Linked DNA regions of Homo sapiens: all the other regions are linked to region 1. Evidence: promoter capture Hi-C in 16 types of primary human blood cells and fetal thymus (Javierre and others, 2016). All regions are on one chromosome and are shown on one strand. The core of a region is centred on a gene start or on the middle of the fragment in contact, and the rest is flanking DNA. Distances in the headings are between cores, read along the strand shown. Region 1 holds the start of MYH11 (myosin heavy chain 11). Region 2 overlaps MYH11 (myosin heavy chain 11). Region 3 overlaps ABCC1 (ATP binding cassette subfamily C member 1 (ABCC1 blood group)).

The links. The method cuts DNA at HindIII sites, captures the fragments that hold promoters and counts their contacts. A CHiCAGO score of 5 or more calls a contact.
Region 2: a contact is called between a fragment that was not itself captured here and the fragment with the promoter of MYH11 in region 1, in 4 of 17 cell types (megakaryocytes, endothelial precursors, erythroblasts and 1 more). The highest score is 10.2, in megakaryocytes.
Region 3: a fragment that was not itself captured here is called in contact with the fragment with the promoter of MYH11 in region 1 in 2 of 17 cell types (megakaryocytes and endothelial precursors); the score reaches 5.5 in megakaryocytes.

The regions. Positions count from the first base shown.
Region 1 is chr16:15,855,639-15,858,516 of GRCh38, reverse strand. It overlaps MYH11 (myosin heavy chain 11), which reads left to right and starts at 1,489. Exons shown (of 41, transcript NM_002474.3): 1 at 1,489-1,576. RefSeq lists an enhancer at 1-443. The HindIII fragment of the contact is 5,018 bases long and covers 1-2,878 here.
Region 2 is chr16:15,781,159-15,784,328 of GRCh38, reverse strand. It overlaps MYH11 (myosin heavy chain 11), which reads left to right. Exons shown (of 41, transcript NM_002474.3): 6 at 1,852-1,944. Among named protein-coding and RNA genes, the nearest start is that of MYH11, 74 kb to the left of the region's middle. The HindIII fragment of the contact is 705 bases long and covers 1,277-1,981 here.
Region 3 is chr16:15,957,449-15,960,333 of GRCh38, reverse strand. The region is part of intron 1 of ABCC1 (ATP binding cassette subfamily C member 1 (ABCC1 blood group)); the gene reads right to left. Among named protein-coding and RNA genes, the nearest start is that of ABCC1, 9.3 kb to the right of the region's middle. RefSeq lists enhancers at 1,148-1,648, 1,649-2,149. The HindIII fragment of the contact is 473 bases long and covers 1,177-1,649 here.

The sequences.
Region 1 (2,878 bases), core at 240-2,739:
CCGGGGAGCAGGAAGGCCACTCGGCACCATATTTAGTCAGGGGGAGCCGGCAGCCCAGAGCTGGTATGCGGCGCTGGGAATTCCTGCAGGAAGGAGTCCGCGCCTGCCCTTTTTGGGTTGTCTCCCGCCCGCCGCTCCCGCCGCTCCCGGGGAGGGGGACCGGCCCGGCCCGGCCCGGCCCGGGAACCTCGGAGGAGCTGGTGCCGCGCGGGGAGCGGAGCGCCCGGGCTGCCCGCGGGTCCCCGGCCTGGCGCGGGGCCAGCCCACCGCCTCGACTTCCTTTTATGGCCTGTGTGTGCGTGCGTGGACAGGAGCGGGGAGGGAGGGACGGGGAGAAGACGGAGAGCCTGGGGAAGAGAGAGAGAGAAAGCGCAGAGATAGGAGTGAGACACGCGGGAGAGATGGAGAGCAAGAGACACAGAGACCAGAGACAAAGTGAGACAGGAGGGAGAGACAGATACATCGACAGATCTAGAGAAGCGAGAGGGACAGAGACAAAAGATAGAGCGAGAGACAGCAATGATCAGAGTGACAGACATGCAGAGACAGTGGCAGAGACAGAGCGAGAGAGCCTGTGATGGAGAGAGACAGGGAATGCAATTTTAGGCGAGGAATCCTTGGGGAAGGGAAGTTGTTGAAGGGAACTCGCAGACTCTGGGGGCACACCCACTTTCTCCTTGGATCTTGACACTTGCATCTTGTAAATAACGTAATTATCACCGCCACCGCCTTCCCCCATTTTGTAGCTATGGACACCAAGTCTCAGAGAAGTGAAGTGACTTGCCCAAGGTCACGCAGCTGGCGAGTGGCGCACAGGGGAGGGGGACAGCTGAAATAATCACAGTGGGCTTATTTTTAATTTTTATTTGTATTTTGGTCGTGGTGATGTGGGTGGAGGTGGAGATGGCAAGTTGGGAAAAGTAAAAACTTCCCCTTCCTGCACGGTTCCCAGCAAGGGTGGGGGCCTCCTGTCTTGCACTTTGCAAAGTTCAAGAAATCCCCTTTCCCTACCCTTCACGCTGCACAGCCGGCCCTCTTTCCAGACAGTGCGATGCCAATAAAATGGGAAGTGGGGTGGGAGATGTCAAGTCAGATCCACCACAGCCCCGACACGGGGAGGAAGAGGTTAAAGCCTTTGCGGCCGGAACCGACTCAGGGAAGACGTTCTCAAGCATCCCGCACAGACACTGCCTGCTCGACCCCCTTTCTCTAGGGATCCGGAGCGTCTGCGACCGCCTGGGGCCGGGGCTGAGACTCCCGTCCCTGTGCGCACCTGTTCCGTGCGCCCTTGTGCGGTGCGCACCTGTTCCGTGCACCCTTGTCCCGAGCGCCCCAGCTCCTTGCGCTCCCGCCGGGGGTGCGCCCTGCAGGGGGCGCGGCGAGGGGGCCGCGAGGGACCCTCCCCAACTCCACCCCTTCGGCCTCCTCCCCTTTCCCAGCCGCGGGCAGCTCCGGGTCTATAAAGAGAGGCGTCCGAGGACGCGCAGGGAGATTTGGACGCTCCGGCCTGGGAGGTGCGTCAGATCCGAGCTCGCCATCCAGTTTCCTCTCCACTAGTCCCCCCAGTTGGAGATCTGTAAGTAGTAGTTGTCATTCTGGGGGCAGATTGCAGGGCAGGGGGGTGTTAAAAGTCCTATAGGGTATTCTATAGGGGCTGGGGTGCACTTAGGGGTCCCTGTTGTCAACCTCGTAAGGGCCATGGTGGGGGCAGAGTTGTGATTTGGATCTCTCTCTGCCTTATCGTCTTAGATTATCCTAGACTTTCCCCAAACAGCATTTCTTAAGATTGCCAGTGAGAAGTACCATTTTGGGGGTGCTTATTAACGATATCAATGCCTGGACCCAACTCCATTTCCCAACTCTAGAATCCCCAGAAAAACTGCCTTAAAAAAAAAAAAATTAGTCCCGAGTGATTCTTGTTAAGAGGCTAATCCAGGAGATATGCTCCCTTGGAAATCTCAGAGGTCCGGTGCAGACAATCAAGGCATCTCACTTTTATTCTAGGCACCAAAAAATTTACAGCTGAACTTCACTGAAAAGTCACTTGCTATCACACAGAAGGGCAAAGTGAGGCTCCTTGTGGATTTGACCGTATTGCACAGTTGTGTTGATAATGCATTAAATCAGTTAAAAACACATGGGCATAGGCTTAGCAGAAAGGAGTGTTGTTGTTTTTTTTTTTTAATCAGTTTAGGGGAGGTTCTTCTATGTTGAGAACCCCTGGGAGATAAGGCTGGTTGTGATCTAGTTTGTTACAGCCCACTTTTTCCTCTTCTCCAAATTAAAAAAAAAAAAAACAACTCACCCAGGTTGACCCCAAAGGGCCCCCAGATACCCAGGTGGGCTCCAAAGTCTCCATTTGCTTCCACGATCTGCAGGTGCGTTAGGTAAGATTACACTAGAATTTCCCGCAGAGCCACCTGTGTCAATGCCACTCTCGTGCCCAACCAAATGGGTAAAACGAGAGAAAGTGTGGCTACTGCCTGTTGTAAGTTTTCTTCCAGCACAGGGTCTGGTAGGGATTTTGCCACTTGAGAAAAGGTACCATCCAAAGCCATGCTTGTCAAGAAGTAAAAGAAAATATTTAGAAACCCAAGGTGGGAGTGTTTAGTTGCAGTATGAAGAACTGAGAGATTAAATGGTGAACTGTCCGTCCGGGGTTTGGCAAAAAGAATGCAGGCTATTAATAAACTGCTTTGCATAGTTTTTTGTTTCTTTGATTTACTCAACGATACTATTTTAGAATTGTTCAGAGACGGAACTTGACGCTGAACTGAAAGTCATTAGGTGGCAGGGTGTGAAATAAGATAGAGAATTTTGTTTGAAGGAAATTGATGTTTTCCCTTTGAGATAGCTACCGTTGATGGAACACTTCAGT
Region 2 (3,170 bases), core at 380-2,879, 74 kb after region 1:
GACTGTCAGGCCCCAAAGCTTCCCTGGCTCGATGGACAGTCGATGGCACAGCTGTGGCATGCCTCCCTCTTCTCTCCCTGCCATCATCCCTAAGTGTCTTCCCTCAGCCCTGTCCCTGGTGCACCAGTGTGTCCCTGTGCATGCGTGTGCAGTGCGTGTCTGTCTCTTGCATGCTGGTTGCTTGACTCAAGCCTCCAGAAACAGTCTTGGAGGTCGCGATGCACTAGCTTTGGTGGCGCGGTAAGGCCCCAGCTACGCAACGCATAACCTGGTCCTGCTTGGACCTGTGCATATGTAAACTCATCTCTAACACAGAGCTTGGGGGGCTGATGTGTGGGTCCCAGCCTAGAAGAAACCCACAGGTGTCTTCCTTGGCTCCCGAAAAGATCATTCAATCCATCTTAGTTAGACCCTGGGTGACTGTGTTGCAGATCAGAAGGAGAATTACAGTTCTTATTTGGGATCTGCTTTTGTGTGACCTTGGCCGAGTCAGTTAACTCCTCGGGGCTATGGTTTCATCATCTATAAAATTGAGGGTTTGAACCAGGTCCCCCGATTTAAAGCTCTCTTGCCAAGACTTTTCAACCTTACCTGCCAGAATCCCCATTCTAGAAAGGGAGCCTTTTTCAGAGAGCATGGAGACCCCAAGTTTATGTGAACAAAAGTGATTCCTTTAGTCGTCTTCCCACCAACAAAGAAATGCCCGTGGTGCTCCTTGTAAATTTCCACCAGTCTCAGCTGTGGTGATTCCACTTGTAGCTGAGATTTGTATGCGGATGAGGCTTTTGCTTCATCTTTCTCTGGGAGCTACAAAAAGGAGGATGTGTGGACAAATCAAAACAGAAACAAATAGCAGCTTCCTGCTTTGTCCTGTAGACCAGGTACCCTGATGCCTTCCTAGCATGCGGAGGAATGAGGAGGAAGCCATGCCCATCCTTGTCCCCTCTAGACACTTTCCCGGCTCCTGTCCAGCCCAGCCCTGATGCCTGGAAAAATAAGGAAGGGAAAGCAGGAGGGGAGGACAAGGAGAAAAACTCCCAGAATCCAGGGCCTGGAGGCCTCGGGGCCCAACTGCAGCCGCCATGTTTTAGGGCTAGGCCAAGAGCAGCTCGTTTGCTTTCCCAGCTTAACTTACCACATTGGCCCTTTCCTGCCATGATTAATCACGTGACCGCGTTTGTGCAAAGGCATCCCGGCAGAGGGGGCCGGTGGGCTGTGTACAGTCTCAGCTTCCTTTAACCCAATGAATGGAGCTCAGGCAACCTGCTTTGAAGCTTTATTCCGCAGTCCGCTAAGAGGATTCCTGGTGGGTTTTGTGCATTCCTTACTTGTCTGCTGTAGAAGACTTCAGAAAACCAGTCCTGAGAAAGAAAAAATTGCAACTTAAAAAAAATTGCACTAAAATAATTAGAAGGAGGCTTGTAGTGGTTTAACTTGAAGAAGGCTGCTTGTTAAACATGAACAGCAGCACGACTGCCATGTACAGTGGGACAGGTGGTGCACTGCACAACTCCGGGGGGCACCATTCATCATGATGTAAATGACATCACCGACATTGTGCAAGGCAGTGGCTTTGAGTGGCAGTGATGTTGCACAGATGAGCAGGCCCTGGTCTTGAAAAAAGTGACCTTCCTAGGGAGCAGATGTCCTAGCTATTAGAGAGCTCAGACAGTTGCTTCTCTTCTGAAATCCTCCTGTAAATCTGAACATTAGCATCAGGGTCTAAGAGGAGGTAGGAGATAGGAGAGAACCTGTGGGTTAAGGGCAGAGTTTTGTGACAACATCCATCCAAGGTAGAACTGTCAGGACCTAGGTTGCTTTCTCCAATAACTAGATGTGAATGAATTTTAGGGAGAGCTGGAAAAGCAGCTTCTACAAGCAAACCCGATTCTGGAGGCTTTCGGCAACGCCAAAACAGTGAAGAACGACAACTCCTCACGATTCGTAAGTAGCAAAGCCACATGGATTTTCCAGAAAAGCTTTGGTGTCATCTCCTGCCTGGGGCTGCAGAGTGTTTGCGTGCAGAGGTGGGAGGGGCATCTGACCCTGGAGAGATGGGCTGTATCTCACAATCTTGCAAGGGCTCCTGCCTCTCACTCTCTCATTCATTCATTAATTTATTCACTATTCACTCAACAAATATTGATTGGCCTGGTGCGGTGGCTCACACCTGTAATCCCAGCACTTTGGGAGGCTGAGGTGGGAGGATCACTTGAGCCCAGGGGTTCTAGACCAGCCTGGGCAACAAAGCGAGATCCCATCTCTATTATTAAAATAAAATTTAAAAAATTAGGTATTGAGCACCTGGTATGGGCTAGACCCTTATATCCGATACCATTTTATGTAACAAAACATGAATTGAGTGCCAACTGTGTACCAGGCACACACCTCCTCCAAGAAATACTTAGTAAGTACCTACTGTGTACAATTACTCTGGTAGGCACTTTTACATGTACCACCATTCTCTTTGTTTTTTTCTCATTTGCTGTTTTTATTAAGTGCCTACTGTATACCAGGCACTCAGCGAGTCTCACAGGATTGCGATGAATAGTTCAGATATGGTTCCAGCCTTCATGAAGCTGGTTCTTCCAACTGAATAACAGAGAGTAAGTGAGGCAGGGGGTACTACCTTCCCATGCACACTCCCCCAGGCTCCAAAGCAAAAAGTTTTTGCCTGAGCCCAACAGGGCAGGGGAACTCTGAAAGTGGATGGTTGATGATAGGTAGACAACAATGGTTTTATTGTGCAAAAGAAGCGGTTGTCTCCGTAGGAGGGTCAGAAAGATATTTTAGTGAGAAAAGATGAAGGAAAAATTGCCTCTGCATTCCAGGAGAAGGGGGTCTCTGAACTGTTGCTCGCTGAGATGGGGCCCTGTGAAAGACTCTTTGCAGAAAGCTCTGCTCTGCTGAGCAAATGCACATGGTGGTCCCTGACCCTGTGATCCCCAAGGCCCATTTTAGTAACAAACAATTACATAATGTCTCCTTTCCTCGCCCGAAATTAGAATCATAGATAGTATCACCTCCTACACGTATTAGATGAATACACATCAGCATAATGCCCTAACTGGAATATGAAGAAGAAATAACATAAGACAATTCATAATGAAAGTGTGCATTTCAGGCCAGGCGAGGTGGCTCATGCCCGTAGTCCCAGTACTTTGGGAGAC
Region 3 (2,885 bases), core at 164-2,663, 100 kb before region 1:
CTCTGGGAGACTGCTTGAGCTCAAGAGTTCAAGACCAAACTGGGCAACATAGTGAAACCCCATCTCTACAAAAAAAAATACAAAAATTAGCCGGGTGTGCTGGTGCATGCCTGTAGTCCCAGCTACTTGGGAGGGTGAGTTGGGAGGGTCACTTGGCCTGGGAGGTCGAGACTGCAGTGCAGTGGTACAATCAGCTAGGGCGACAGAACAAGACTCCATCCATCAATCAGTCAAACACCACACAAATTTCTTGTACTGGGAAGACTTAGACATCACACATATTCTCCAAACAAGTATTACCTAGGAGGCCAGTAAAAGGTACACTGAGGTTCCTCAGAGAGAAAACTCACAGAGAGGAAGATAAAAGCTCCATAAAAATCTCAATTACTACTTGAGGGTTACAGGATGCTAGCCTAGAGCCTCCCTCCCTAGACAGGTTTCTCAGAGAGAAAACTCACAGAGAGGAAGAGAAAACCTCCATAAAAATCTCAATTCCTGAGGGTTACAGGATGCTAGCCTAGGGGCACCCTCCCTGGTCATTAACACCCACTTTCCAGAACCTGGCAACCTCCCCAGGAGATGAATCCCACAGTTAAACTAAGGGGACACTTAAGTGGAATCTCAACTTTGTAATCGTCCACTTCTCCTGGGGCACTTTAAAATGAAGGAGTAGAGCTTCAAAGCTGATCTCTCAAGAAAGCCATTTTCGGCTGGGCATGGTGGCTCACGCCTGTAATCCCAGCACTTTGGGAGGCCGAGGCAGGAGGATCGCTTGAGCCCAGGAGTTTGAGACAAGCCTGGGCAACATGGTGAGACCCTGACTCTACAAAAAATACAAAAATTAGCCGGGTATGGTGGTGTGCACCTCTGGTCCCAGCTACCTGGGAGGCTAAGGTGGGAAGATAGCTTCAGCCCAGGAGGTCGAGGCTGCAGTGAGCTATGATTGTGCCACTGCACTCCAGCCTGGGTGACAGAGGGAGACCCTGTCTCAAAAGAAAAAAGAAAGAAAAAGAAAAAGAAAGCCATTTTTGTTTTCCCAGGGGAGAATGAACTGTCACAACTCCAACTGGGAAAATGGAAAAAGGTAAAAAGACACAGCCCTCAGTAAAAAAGAAACTGCCGCAAGTTTCTTCTCTAGCTAATTGGAGTTTAACCTCCTTAACGTCTCATTAAGCTTCTCCAAGGCAACCCCAGTAAGCCAATTACACTAGAATTTCGACAGCCCACAACCTCCTAGGGAAATGCAGGATGAGGAGGAAGGTCTTGCTCCATGTTTCTCCCCCATATTCCTCCACACCAGTGGCTGTGTGATTTCACACCCCAGGGAACATATGGAAACATCTAGAGGCATTTTCGGTTGTCACAACAAGAGGAGGTGCTACCAGCATCTACTAGGGGGTAGAGGCCAGGTTTGGGGCTAAGACTACGCTGCACAGAACAGCAACCAGGCCACAAAGAATGATGTGGCCTACATGTCAACGGGGCCGACACTGAGCAACTGTGCTCCATGTCCCCACCCGCAAAATACAGCTTCCTCAAAGGCCCCGTTCAACCATTCAGCCTCTAAGAGGTAAGTGCAGGTCCCCAGCACCACTCCACCCACAGGGATGCTGCCCTATCCCAGTTTTCTTGCTAAGCGGGGGGAAGCTTGCCTCAGGATGTCTGGCCATTAATTAATTTTGGCAAAATGTTTGGGCAAGTTTTCACGAGCTAGAGTTGTACTGACCACACTAAGAGCTGATCATCAAAGCTAGGCCTTACTTCGCCATGAAAATCTGAAGCCAACATACCAATCAGATGCTAACTTCAAGGTTGGCCTGCAAAGCAGGAGATGCCAACTCAGATACCAACAGGTGCCAAAGTGGGTTCCATCCATGCAAGAAGCAGACCAGGTGTGAGGAAGCACAATTTTAAAAAGGCAACAGGCCAGGCACGGTGGCTCATGCCTGTAATCCCAGCACTTTGGGAGGCTGAGGAACTCAAGTGATCCACTTGAGTTCAGGAATTCAAGACCAGCCTGGCCAATATGGAGAAACCCCATCTCTACTAAAAATACAAAAATAAGCCGAGTGTGGTGGTGCGGGCCTGTAATCCCAGCTACTCGGGAAGCTGAGGCAGCAGAATCACTGGAACCCGGGAGGCAGAGGTTGCAGTGAGCCGAGATTCCACTACTGCACTCCAGCCTGGGTGACAGAGCGAGACTTCGTCTCAAAAAAATAATATAAAATAAAACAAAGGCAACAAACATTTGGCCTTAAAATTAAAGCAACAACAGGGAGGGGTGGGGACTGCGGCAAACTGGAGCAACTCAGAAACGGACAGCCTCAGCGGACCGCTACCATGTATAAATGTGGGCCTGGGGCTAGCAGAACTTCTGATTTTTCAAGGGAAGCCAGAAATCCAGATGTTTCTGTGAAATCTGCCAATGAATAAACATTGTAGGGCGGGCCACAGTGGCTCATGCCTGTAATCCCAGCACTTTAGGAGGCCGAGGCGGGCGGATCACGAGGTCAAGAGATCGAGGCCATGCTGGCCAACATACTGGAAACCCCGTTTCTATCAAAAACACAAAAATTAGCTGGATGTGGTGGCGTGCCCCTGTAGTCCCAGCTACTGGGGAGGCTGAGGCAGAATTGCTTGAACCCAGGAGGCAGAGGTTGCAGTGAGCCAAGATCGTGCCACTGCACTCCAGCCTGGCAACAGAGCAAGACTCCGTCTCAAATAAATAAATAAATAAAATTGGAAATCACAGTCATTCCTATAATTAAAATCAAGCCAAACCAGCACAGTGGTGAGCTATATCTAACCCCTAGCTTGGAACTCATACCTCAAACACTCAAATTCTAATGTTGATTGAGCCCCCACTGTGTGTGAGACACTGAGTC